2 separate regions of the Homo sapiens genome follow, and region 1 is linked to region 2. Evidence: promoter capture Hi-C in 16 types of primary human blood cells and fetal thymus (Javierre and others, 2016). All regions are on one chromosome and are shown on one strand. The core of a region is centred on a gene start or on the middle of the fragment in contact, and the rest is flanking DNA. Distances in the headings are between cores, read along the strand shown. Region 1 holds the start of LOC101927272 (a long non-coding RNA gene). Region 2 holds the start of TENT4B (terminal nucleotidyltransferase 4B).

Region 1 (6,499 bases), core at 1-2,500, 520 kb after region 2:
GCCCAAGAGAGGCCTGCTGGGGATGTGTTGGGAGCCAACCTACCCCTACCAGCAGGTGGAACTGGTTTTGCCACTCCAAAACAGAGTTCCAGCTATGGGGACAGCCACTAGAGAGCAGAGCTAAGGGCATTCTAGGCCAAGGGGTCACAGTCCACCCTGAACTGTGCCTCCCAGCCTGAAGCCAGAAAGCTCAGGGAGGCTAGCGGCCCTGCCCAGGCCTCAGCACTGACCCTGCACCCCTAGGCCCAGCTGGATGACCCCTAAGAGCTTCCTGGAATTTGGATGCAGGGTTATTCTGTGTGTGCTGCCTCTCAGAGCATGTCACTTTGACGTGGACATCTCGGGTCTGGTTCTGGTGCTGTCCCTGTCTCGCCACGTGACCCTGGATAAGTCATCTCTCCAGGCCTTGATTTCCCCATCTGTAAACAGAGGTGAGTGAAATGATCTTTAAAGGCGTGTCAGTCCATTTTGCATTGCTATAAAGGAATACCTGAGGTTGGGTAGCTTATAAAGAAAAGAGGGTTATTTGGCTCACAGTTGTGCAGGTTGTACAGAAGCATGGCACCAGCATTGCTTCTTGTGAAGCTTCAGGAAGCTTCCACTTATGGTGGAAGGGGAAGGGGGAGTTCGTGACTTACATGGCAAGAGAGGGAGCAAGAGCCATGTCAGGCTCTTCTAAACAACCAGCTCTCATGTAAACTAACAGAGTGAGAACTCATTCATTACCACGGGGAGGGCACCAAGCCATCCATGAGGGACCTGCCCCCATGAGCCAAACATCTCCCACCAGGCCACACCTTCAACACTGGGAGTCACATTCAGCATGAGATTTGGAGGTGACCACCATGCATCCAAACCATATCAAGGACCCATTTCGGTGAGGGGACCAGGAACATATCCCTTCCCCTCTCCTCCACATCCTTTAATGTGGAGTTCAGCAAGGAAAGTAGGGCTTGGGTCAAATTAAAGCCTGGTCTTAATTTCCTGGTCCAGTTATTAGCTGTGTAACCCTGGGCAAGTCACTTAACCCCCTCAGGTTACAATGTTACAAATGATCACATTTTCCTCAACTGAAAAATGGGATAGGAACATGTCCCAAGCAGAGCTGGAGTGACGGTGCTATCAATGGCCCGGCAGTGCCTGGTCACACAGTAGGCCTGGGGAGCCCTGACTTTTACCGCACAGGGAGCTGCTTGCAGAGCTTGTTTTCAATTGTGGGCTTGGCAGGGAACTGCCGGCATCCCAGGGGACAGGGTCTCATGAGGATGCCTAATCCCAGCTCAAAGTGGAGACCCCAGGACTCCATCACAGCCAGTGGGGGGGAGTGGCTGCTGCAGCAGGGAGGGCTTCATTGGAATGAACCCCTTTAAGCTCCAGTCCAAATGCCCAGAGTGGTTTTGCAGGTATGGTTGTGAGGCTGGCATGGTAGTCCCATCTGCAGTCCCCTGGGATGAGGCACCTGTATGGTAGAGGGCCCGGGTGGAGAGAAGAGAAGGATGGGGATGAACCCAGGACCACAGATGGCCCAGTTCCATGGATGATTTTCATTGAGGTGCCTTCAAGTCAGTTCAACACTGGGCTTCTCAACCTTTGAGGTATGCAGGTAAGAGTCACCTGCGGCAGTGGGGGATGCTCTTGTTAAAGTGCAGACTCCGATTAAGCAGGTCTAGGGTGGGGCCTGAAATTCTGTGTTCCTAACAAGGCTCCATCCTGGGTATGGAGGTCAGGTACCCCCTCACCTCTCCTGTGGACCCAGCTTTTGAGGGGTCAGGAGAAGAATGTTCAGTCCCAGCTGCCACCACTCTAAAGTCCCCTAGAAACAAGGACTAATACAGGTGGCGTGGGAGAGGGCCCAGGCAAACAGGGAGGTGGGGTACCCCGGTGGGGCTGCAGTGGGCCCTGCGGAAAGCTTGCTGGAGGTGGGGGCCTAAGGAATTCAAGGACTTGTTCCAGGAACCCAAGGAACGAGTGGGCTCTAACTGCTGCAGCATATGGGAGATGCCAGGAGGAGCTGGCTGTGGCAGGCCATCCCAGTCCATCAGACAACTTGTAGTGGATGAAGATGCAGTGTCCATGGCCAGAAGAAACTCCCGTGGATGCTCAGGCCAAGGCTGCCAGAAGCACGAGGAGGGGCAGCATTGAGTGTCATCGGGAAAAGGCAAAGTGATGGTCCTGAAGCTGCCCCATGTGGCCAGTCCCTTTTTGGGAAGCCTGAATAAATCCATTTCCTGTGCACTGTGTGGGAAGCCAACCCCTCTTCAGAGGTACTTATGGGGAACCCCCCATGTGATTCTATAGGCTCCTTTACTCCCATATAAGTATTTTCTCTCTGTGTGCACCCCCCGCCCCACCCCCCCAACACCCCACACATATCATCTATCTGTGATTTTGAGATGACTTTTTTTTTTCACATTTCAGCACCTCTGAACTCAACAGGATCCTACACTTCTTATAGGCCTGGCTTGATGCTGACATCCTTCAGCCCCAGGGAAGACCTAAAGATCTCCAGGTCTTGAGGCACCTGGAACACCTCCACCTGAGACCACTTTAACATGATTTCTCTGCTTGAGGGATTTTGGACCATGCTGTGTGTATTCAGCCCTAAAACATGGGCGAGTGCCCGCTTGCAGTTCAAATTCTCAGAGGAAGTTCCCTGTACTCCACCCAGTGCCAAGTTTAGTTTGTGCAAATTTCCTTAATGTCCCCTCCTGTACAACAGGCTTATTTGGTGTTAACCCTCATATCGGGGGTCTAACTCTTTGCTTTTCCAGCTTTTGTGCTGGAATATCCCATTAAACTGTCCATGTTGGGTATTTTTTCTTTGTTAGTAAACATTTGTTGCATATTGTTGATAGCATTTTAGATTTGAAGAAATAACTGACAAAATCAATATCATCTGTTTCATCATTACAAATAGACTCATAGCTCTTTAATTTTTCCATTTAACACTTTAATTTTCCATAGGCCTAGATTTTCAAGAAGTCCAATATCTCTCACTTGAAGTGTCTTTTCCCTGGAGTAGATTGGGAGATTTGAGGGATATCTGTCCAAAGATGAGACAGTCTGTTTCTAGTTTCCCATCCAGCCTGATGGGGCGTCTACAGTTTTTACCACAAGGTGTCGCTGTTGAACAGATTCTGGTGCAGTCTAGTGCATAGCTGTCCACTTCTAGAGTGATCACTTGCTGGGCCAAGTTCCTCTCCTTAAGTGGTGTCTCACATTAAGGTTCCCAAATTACAGACTCATTAATTCACCCTAATAAGCTCATCCAGGCAGTTTAGGTCTTCAGGGGCTTCCAGCCTCCAACACACATTGGGCCAAAACCAGCCTGTACCACCAGCTCCAAGCCCTGTGTTGAATCTAGGTCATTGGTCCAGATGCCCCTTCATTCTGGGCCTGTGGTGTCCTTTCCAGACAGCAGACCTCAGTTAAGGGCATCCCAGTCCATCAGAGAAGTTCCAGGATCACAGACCCTCAAAAGGGGCAGTGTTGAGGATTCAGTCTGTTTTCTGCCCAGAGGCCCCATTAAGTATGTTGTATCACCTCCTCCCCAGGCTGTTTCTACATAACCCAGGGAAGCCATTCAGGGAACAGCTGCCTTATGAATGAAAATCCACCCCTAGACAATGTGCTATGCCATCCCAGCCAGAAAAATTGTTGGCAACTTCCCTTGCCAAAAATGCCTGGTATCACAGAATCTTATGCCATTATTGCTTTCTGGTCCAGGGTCCTCCCACCCTTCAAAAGGATGGCATACAACTCCCACCGTGTGTGTGTGTGTGTGTGTGTGTGTGTGTGTGTGTGTGTGTGTAGAGGCTGTTCTTGAGGGCAATAGGTGAGCTTTTGTTTTGCTTTGTCAGGTCTACATGGTAAGGGGGAAGGGCTAGAATACTAAGATAGTATTAGGATAATGGATGGAAATATTTTAAAGCAATTCCAAGGTGGAAGGAACAGAGAGAAAAGCCTTGGAGCAGCTGGAGAGAACTGTCTTCAAGGAAATGGACTAAGTTTTGTCTAGAATGTGTGAGGTAAACTTCTTCTCCAGCTTCCCACAAAGACACTGGTGGGGTGGACACTGCTCTGGACGGTTTTGGCAGTTGGTTTTGTGTTTTGGAGATGAAGTGGCCCTGGCATCAAGAGGACGTGGGACACAAGCAGAGGCTTCCAAGGGGTCCCAGGAGCACCTCTGTCCAATACAGATGGAGAAATTGAGGACCAGAGGAGGGGCTTGTCCAAAGTCACCCAGCGAGTTAGAGCCCCCAGTGGCTTTTCCCATTAAAAATGAACCCCAGGCCAGGGGTGGTGGCTCACACTTGTAACCCCAGTGTTTTGGGAAGCTGAGGCAGGAAGATCATTTAAGGTCAGAAGTTAGAGACCAGCCTGGGCAACAGAGAGACCCTGTCTCTACTAAAAAATTAAAAATTAGCCTGGTGTGGTGGTGTGCACCTGTAATCCCAGCTACTTGGGAGGCTGAGGTGGGAGGATTGCTTGTGCCCAGGAGTTTGAGGCTGCAGTGAGACATAATTGAGCCACTGCACTTCAGTCTGGGTGACAGAGCAAGACTGTCTCAAATAACAAAAAAGAAAAGGAAAAATAAAAAAAAAGAACCCCAAACAGCCCACTGTGAGCCATGGTGACCCCAAATCTCCAGCGTCCCTGCGGGGTCCCAGGCCGGCTCAGTGCAGGTATTCTCGCACAGTGAGCTCCTTCAGGGTGATGCCTCGGGGCGTGGGCCTCCGGAGCTGGCTCTCCTCCAGCCTCTCCTGCAGAGTCACGAAGTCCTTGCCCAGCGCGTAGGCCAGGCGGACCATGGCGTCCAGCAGAGGCGCATAGTAGCGATGGCCCTCCCGGGCCTGCAGGCGCTGCAGGGCCCTCTCTCCGGCCGCGAAGGCCTCGGCGGGGCGGTCGAGGTCGCGGTGGCACAGCAGCACGGCGCACAGGGCCGGGACGGCGGCCGCAGGGCAGTGGGCGGTGAGCTTCTCCTGCAGCGGCAGCACGCGCAGCAGCAGCTCCAGGGCGCGCGGGTACTGGCCGGCCCGCAGGCAGCCGAAAGCCTCGCGCAGCTCCGGCCGCGTGAGGAAGTCCAGGAACTCCCGGGAGCGGCGCACGCAGCGGATGGCGTAGAGCAGGCCCAGGTACTCCTGCAGGGCGCGCCGACGCTCACAGATCATCTCCTCAGCGAAGTTCCCAGTCAGGTGCTTCCTGGGAAACTCCACGTCTTCGATCTCCTCCCTGAACGTCTTCAGCAGCGCTTTCTGGAGCTTCGCGAAGTCGGAATAGCGCCGTTCCAGGACGGCCTTGTTGTTGTCAAAGCTCCCAGTCTGGATGACGATGATTTGGTACACCTAGGGCGCAACCAGAGAGAGCTGTGGCCACCTCCCGGCGGGGGCTGCGGCGGACGGAGCACACCCAGAGTAAAGTTAACCAGGCCGGTGTAAAGCATGCCCTGAAAACGGGCGATCCTTATATGCAATTGTTTGTTTGTTTGTTTGTTTGTTTGTTTATTTATTTATTTATTTATTTATTTATTTATTTTTAGAGACAGGGTCTCGCACTGTTACCCAGGCTGGAGTACAGTGATGCGATCATACCTCACTGCAACCTTGAACTTATGGGCTCAATTGACCTGCCCACCTGAGCCTCCTGAGTAGCTGGGACTACAGGCACACCCACTACCTGGCAGATTTTTTGATTTTTTTTAAAAGATGGGGTCTGGCTGTGTTGCCCAGGCTGGTCTCCAACTCCTGGGCTCAAGCGATCCTCCTACCTGGGCCTCCCAAAGTGCTGGGATTACAGGCATGAGCCACTGCACCTGGCCCAATTCTGTTTTAAATTGCTATTGGCATCAGCTGAGTCAACCCTGGAACAACAACACAGCAAGGTGGGGACATCTGGGAGGAGAAAGGGCAGAGGGTCCTGCCCTGCAGGCTGCTGGGGTCCCTCTTGGCTTTACTTGCTAAAACTGGGCCTCTGTTTTCTGAACTGAGATGCTGTGTTTTCCAAATGTTTCACACTTGGGAATTAGTTTTACGTACAATATAACATCATTTAGGTACACTGGTGATGCCGTTATATGGTAAGAAAATCAATCCTTTTCAATCATCTTTCAAGAGAATCCTGATTACGGGCAATTATATATTAAGGGCAATTATAACCCATGCATCTGACTCCAGAGCCAGATTGCATGGGTTGTAATTATAGCCCTACCATGGTCTAGCTGTGTGGTTTTAGATGAGTAATTTAACCTCTCCGAGTCTCACTTTTCTCATTCATAAAACAAGGATAGGCATAGTGCCTACCTCACCCAGTGAGGATTAAATGAGTTAATGCACTGAAACCACATGGAGCTGTGCCCGGCATGCCATTGGCATTCAGTGGTAGCTATGTTATTTATCCCGGTCCCAGGTAAGTGAAGGAGAAGGATGAAGTGTGGCTCTTAGGCAGTCTTTAACATCCCTTAACACAAGCTAAAATTCCATTCTAACAGGGAGAGGAGCAG
Region 2 (6,313 bases), core at 1,891-4,390:
TTACCTTGATCCTACGTTAAAGGAAAAGGCCCAGCTCATTTTTAAATTTTTTGTAGAGACAGAGGTCTCACCATGTTGCCTAGGCTGTTCTCAAACTCCTGGCTTCAAGTAATCCTCTCACCTCAGTCTTCCAAAGTGCTGGGATTACAGGCATGAGCCACTGCATCCTGCTGAGAGAGAGAGAGAGATAGATATATATATATATAATTTTTTTTTTTTGAGACAGAGTCTCACTGTGTCACCTAGGCTGGAGTGCAATGACGCGATCTCGGCGCACCAAAACCTCTGCCTCCAAGGTTCAAATGATTCTCCTGCCTCAGCCTTCCAAGTAGCTGGGATTACAGGCATGTGCCACCACACCCGGCTAATTTTTTGTATTTTTAGTAGAGACGGGGTTTCACCACATTGGCCAGGCTGGTCTCGGGAACTCCTGAGCTCATGATCTGCCCGCGTCAGCCTCCCAAAATGTTGGGATTACAGGTGTGAGTCACCACGCCCGGCCAGAGATTCAATTTTTAAAACAAATATGAGGTCAGCAAACAAAATCTATTTCTATACAATGTTTTATTTTTGTCAGTGTAAATAACACAAAAAATACGGCTACTTATTTTCCTGGCTATGTAATAATTAGTACATAGCAAATTTCATTCAGGGAAAACTTTTTTTTTTTTTTTTTTTTGAGATGGAGTCTCGCTCTGTCACCCAGGCTGGAGTGCAATGGCGAGATCTCGGCTCACCACAACCTCCACCTCCTGGGTTCATGTGATTCTCCTGCCTCAACCTCCTAAGTAGCTGGGATTACAGGCATGCGCCACCACACCCGGCTAATTTTGTATTTTTAGTAGAGATGGGGTTTTTCCGTGTTGGTCAGGCTGGTCTCGAACTCCCGACCTCAGGTGATCTGCCTGCCTTGACTTCCCAAAACGCTGGGATTACAAGTGTGAGCAACCGCCCCCGGACAGAGAAAACTTTTAATACTGATTTCTAGTAAAGCAACAGCAACAATCAAATTGAATGAATCAAAATTCCGAAGGGTTTTTTTTGTTTGTTTTTGGTGGACAGGAAGTAGGATTTACTGGGGAGTATTAAGAGGGGGCAGCACAGTGGAAGCCCTCACGAGGGCAGGGCACGCCACTTGTCCAGAGGGCCATGATGGGGATGTACTTGACCCCACAGTCATCTGCGATGAGCCGCTTTTCAGCCACCATGTCTTCAAATTCATCCGCAGTGAACTTGGTGAAGCCCCACTTCTTTGAAATGTGGATCTTCTGGCAGCCAGGGAACTTGAACTTGGCCCTGAGCAGGGATTCAATCACATGCTCCTTATTCTGCAGCTTGTTGCAGATGGACATGATAACTTGGCCAATGTGAACCCTGGCCACAGTGCCCTGGAGCTTTTCAAAGGCACCTCGAATATCTGCCTGGAGCCTACATTGGCGTAGTGCAAGGTCAAAGACATGAACATACATCTGAAAGGCCTGTCTCCATGGTCCCTTAGAGCAGCCCATACAAGAAACAGGCTGCATAAACTACCAAGGAAGCTGTTGTTTGCAGCTGAAGGGTCTTTGTGTGTTTTCCGTATTTCTGGTCGTGCTATTTATTCTCTTACCAAAAAAAAAAAAAAAAGTAAGGTCAGGCGTGGTGGCTCACCCCCTTGTAATCCCAGCAGTTTTGGAGTCTGAGGTAGGAGGATCGCTTAAGTCCAGGAGTTCCAGACCAGCCTGGGCAGCGCAGAGCAACTTCGTCTCTATGCCATGTTGACGCGTGCCTATAGTCCTAGCTACTCGGAGGCTGGGGCAAGAGGATCGCTTGAACCCAAGAGGCCGAGCCTGCAGTGAGCTGTGAATGAGTCACTGAACTCCAGATGACAGAGCAAGAGTTAGTCTCGAAAGAAAGAAAAAGGTAGAGCGACACTTAGTTCTTTGATAGTTTTCCACTATTTGTCATAAAAACTTTCCAGGATATTGAGCTCCCAAAATGGAAGGCCAATATCAGGCATCAGGGACTTGTTCTGGACGTTGGACCAACCTTAAAGGGCCCACATAGAAGCTGTTCACTTACTTTCTTTTAGTCTCTTGATTTAAAATACTTAACATTCCCCTTTCCTTGGCTTTTTAACCACTGAGATTTGAAAGACATGCAAATAACGACCTAGTGGACAATCTTTGCTGATGCTAAATCTTCATTTTAGGATTAAAAGGTTTTGGGTTTTCTTAAAATTTAATGCTGAACTCAGAAGAGCTTTCTAAGGCTGTTGGTGCACCTTAGGGCAGGAGAGCGTCTTTGCTACGCCGCGCAGGAGTGTGTCTGCTTCTCTGTGCATCTACACGTGTTTGCGTGTCCCTGTAAAGTGGGTTGAGTGTGCGGCTGCGGCTTTCCGCCCTTGGCTCACACTCTCAGTCTTAGTGGTCTCCCCCAGGGCTATGCATGGGGTACAGGTTTCTGTGGCCTCAGGCCGGGGTGAGGGGTCCCCCACCCCGGCCAGGGCGCAGCAGGGCGGGGCACACGTAGCCGTGCAGGGTCTCGCGCAGCCCGCGTCAGGACCCCGGGGCACACGCTCGGGCAGGGGGCGTGTCCCCACGCCACCAGAAAAAGTGTTATAGGCTGTTTTTTTTTTTTTTTTTTTTTTTAAAAAGAAAGTGTTTTAGAAAGCAGGCAGAAGCCAAGACGTCAGGAAGGGTTGCGAGGGCCCGGGATCCGGCGGCCACAGGGATGGGAGGGGCGAGGAGCGAGGGGCGGAGTGGCACCTCCCACAACGCGCTCCCTGCGGGGCGGGCGGCAACCTCCATGCGGCCTCGTCCACGCTCAGCACCGGGGAAGCCGAGGCGGAGAAGCCGCGCGCGCCTCAGAAGCTCCCGGACGCCCAGGTACGTGGGAGCACTCCACAGATGGCGCAAGTACGGTTGGGCCAGGCGGTTGCGGCCCCGTCGCGCCGCGGCCTCTGTGACGCACGGCGAGGCCTCCCGGGCTGCTGCGCGGCGCAGCGGGGGCGGGGCGAGCGCGTGAGGGCGGGGCGGTGGGGGGGGGGGGCGGAGCGAGAGGGGCGGAGCCGGCAGAGGCCCCGCCCCGGGGCCGGAGGAGCGAGGACGCTACGGAGCAGGCGCGTCTCGCTGCCGCCGCTGCCGCCGCCGCCGCTCGCTCTTCTGTGGAGCCGCCGCCGCCGCCGCCGCCATTTGCACGGGGACCCCAGTGACAGGGGCTCGGCGGAGGGGCGGAGGGGCGGAGGGAGGGGGGGAGGGCCCGCGGAGCCCCCGAGGGCGGGAGCGACGCCGCCGGCGCCGGCCGGGCTCCCTGCGCGACCGCGCCGCCCGCGGCGGGCCCCGAGCAGCAGCAGCAGCAGCAGCGGCAGCAGCGGCAGCAGCAGCAGCAGCCGAGGCCGGGCGTGCGCCTGAGGCGGCGGCGGCGGCGGCCCTGCGGGCGGCCGGGAGGGGCGGGGGCAGCGGCCGCCGCCGTTTGATGGATCCGAGGATCGCCTGGTTTCAGCCAGAGCAGCTCGGACCGTCCAACAGTCTGTGGATGCAGATCTGGGAGACGACCCAGGGGCTGAGGAACCTCTACTTCAACCACCACTGTCACAGCAGCGGCGGCGCGAGCGGCGGCGGCGGCAGCAGCAGCAGCAGCAGCACGGCCACCGGCGGGAGCGGCAGCAGCACCGGCAGCCCCGGCGGCGCGGCCTCGGCCCCGGCCCCGGCCCCGGCCGGCATGTATCGCTCCGGGGAGCGCCTGCTGGGCAGCCACGCGCTGCCCGCGGAGCAGCGGGACTTCCTGCCCCTAGAGACGACCAACAACAACAACAACCACCACCAGCCCGGGGCCTGGGCCCGCCGGGCGGGCTCCTCGGCGTCCTCGCCTCCCTCGGCGTCCTCGTCCCCGCACCCTTCGGCCGCCGTCCCCGCCGCCGATCCAGCCGATTCGGCCTCGGGCAGCAGCAACAAGAGGAAGCGCGACAACAAGGCCAGCACGTATGGACTCAACTACAGCCTGCTGCAGCCCAGCGGAGGGCGGGCCGCGGGGGGCGGCCGAGCAGACGGCGGCGGGGTCGTGTACAGCGGGACCCCGTGGAAACGGAGGAACTACAACCAGGGAGTCGTGGGGTGAGTGCTGGCTCTGCGGCCCGATGGCCTGGCCGGTGCGAATGCGCAGCCGGGCACACGCCCACAGAGGGGGGTTGTGAGGGTCTAGGAGCGGCCACCCCCACGGCCTGCCTTCGCTGCTGTTGCACGGGGGTGCTGCTGGCCATCCCCAACCCCCCAGTCGTTCACACCTTTCCCCAAGCCTCCTTAGCCGTCCACACCCTCCGTCTCCTGTCCTCCCTTAGTCGTCCACACCTTCCTCCCCTCCCTCTTAACCGTCCACACCTTCCCCAGGCCCCCCCCTTTATCCATTCACTCTCCTCCCATCCCCCTTAGTTAAACACATCTACCCTTGACCACCACCCCGCCTCCAGCCCTCCACACCTTTTTCCCCATCATCACAACTCAAGATGAGACCGCTTAGCACGGGCCTATCATTCATTCCCTGAGAACATTGGTGTGTGAGTGTTTTTTGATGGTGCAGGACCCGGAGGTGCTTTCCTTGCCAAGAATAGAAACATCCAGAATGCTCCTCCCCATCCCCCAATCCCAGACAGCAATTATGTCAGCCCTGTAAGGCATTGCCTGCTCTTGACCCTTTGGCCCATCTTTTTATTTTTAAAAAATTCCCATGTCACAGATGCCCTGTCTATGCAGAGGGTGGCGTGGGATGGGTGACCACTAAGTTTAGGCTGGTGAAGGTGGTGAGCCCTTCTGAGGCCCTGATAGAACTTTCCAGGAGTTCATGGTCCGCGGCTCCAGCTTCTCACTGTAAAGTTGTCATCCTGGCAGAGGCAGCCAATGCTTTTCATTCTAGGGGGTAGAGATTTATGCTAATGAGTGAATATTGCACCACTAGTGACTTTCTGTTTAAAGTTCAGCTCTTAGAAAATGGAATCTTACCTGACCCCTAGTGAATTATGTACATAAGCAGGGAATGTTTCCAACTAGATCTCCCTTCAGAAGAGTCCCTGTGCTGGAATAGGTCACTGAATCTTATTTGTTTTGTAAAACAAAGCTTTTGGGTCTCGTGGGTGTGTGTGTGTGTGTGTGTGTGTGTGTGTGTGTGTGTGTAGCTTGAGTATGGAGAACCGGCTTTCAAATTGCTTTTCATTTTTCAGGTTGTGTTTTACATTGAGGGCTTTAGCATGCAAATGAAATTACCAATTAGTAATCCCATGTGAACCTTTTCCTGGATTTATTCATTCAGATCTGCCCTGCTTTGGCTGAGAGAGAGAGTTCTGTGTACCTTTTTGAAGGTCTGGATAAAATGAGTTGGTGGGTTCCATCTGCTTCCAGTGGGCTGGTGTCTGCTCTATGCTACTATTACAACTCCTACCTTTTGTGGAAAATGCAGTCAAGCGTTCTAGGACTGGTGCTGTGGTACATGTCAAACCTGCCCTCACATTCCAGAAAGGGAACCCTTTTAGGGTTGAGTCCTCTGTTGCTAAGCTTCAAGGGTGCTCTCCATGGTCATCACGTTTTATTAAAGGCTTGTGGTTCCATCCTGTTAGCATTTCCAAGTCTACGCGTAAACCTGTGGTTTAGTGACAAGCAAATTGATGTTGAGGGTTTCTGGTAGTTTCATTTCACAGGAGTAAGCTCCAGTTAGGTAATCACTGTCAACGAAAACCTTGAAGTTCCTTAATTGCATTTTACTGAAGCCTCTTTGCATGTGTCTAGCAAAAGATATAAGTCCAAGATGCTTATTTTTTTTTTGATAAATTAGAAATTGTCCTCTCCTCTACTTGCTATTTAATGCAGAAGATACTCTAAAAGGTTCATATTTATACTTAGAAGCAAGATGTTCTTGTTCCTGATTCAAATATATTGCCCTCAAAGGGATTAGGAGAGGAATTTTCATTTCCCGGAGGGATTACTGTTTAAAAACTGGTTGTAAACCTCTTTAAAAACTGCTTATCACTTCACCAGATTTTCCATTCTTTTGCCTCCTCCCTTAGAGGATGTCAGCAGTTAATTTTTTTTTTAAATTAAAAAAAGTTCAATTCTGAGACCTCCTAGTTTCAAAAAATACATTAAACAATTCCCAAGAGTGTTAAGAGTGTCTGGGTGCTTAGAAATTCTTGCTTTGATTCATGTATTCTGATTTTTTTTTTTTTTTTGAGACGGAGTTTCGCTCTTGTTGCCCAGGCTGGAGTGCAGTGGCTCGATCTCAGCTCACCGCAACCTCTGCCTCCCAGGTTCAAGCGATTCTGCTGCCTCAGCCTCCCGAGTAGCTG

Evidence for each region. Contacts are between HindIII fragments. The CHiCAGO score rates a contact against its expected background, and 5 or more counts as called.
Region 1: a fragment that was not itself captured here is called in contact with the fragment with the promoter of TENT4B in region 2 in 13 of 17 cell types (total CD8 T cells, naive CD4 T cells, activated CD4 T cells and 10 more); the score reaches 16.7 in total CD8 T cells.

The regions. Positions count from the first base shown.
Region 1 is chr16:50,668,730-50,675,228 of GRCh38, forward strand. LOC101927272 (a long non-coding RNA gene) reads left to right here and starts at 126. Exons shown (of 3, transcript NR_110908.1): 1 at 126-431; 2 at 1,954-2,264; 3 at 2,419-2,910. SNX20 (sorting nexin 20) reads right to left here. Exons shown (of 4, transcript NM_182854.4): 4 at 2,900-5,345. The coding sequence ends at 4,677. The HindIII fragment of the contact is 1,314 bases long and covers 594-1,907 here.
Region 2 is chr16:50,150,166-50,156,478 of GRCh38, forward strand. TENT4B (terminal nucleotidyltransferase 4B) reads left to right here and starts at 3,141. Exons shown (of 12, transcript NM_001365324.3): 1 at 3,141-4,094. The coding sequence starts at 3,457. It also overlaps the pseudogene RPL10P14 and the pseudogene LOC124900375. RefSeq lists enhancers at 2,197-3,154, 4,792-4,841, 5,701-5,760 and silencers at 2,381-2,470, 2,691-2,860, 2,971-3,130, 3,361-3,460, 3,641-3,690 and 1 more. The HindIII fragment of the contact is 13,709 bases long and covers 1-5,089 here.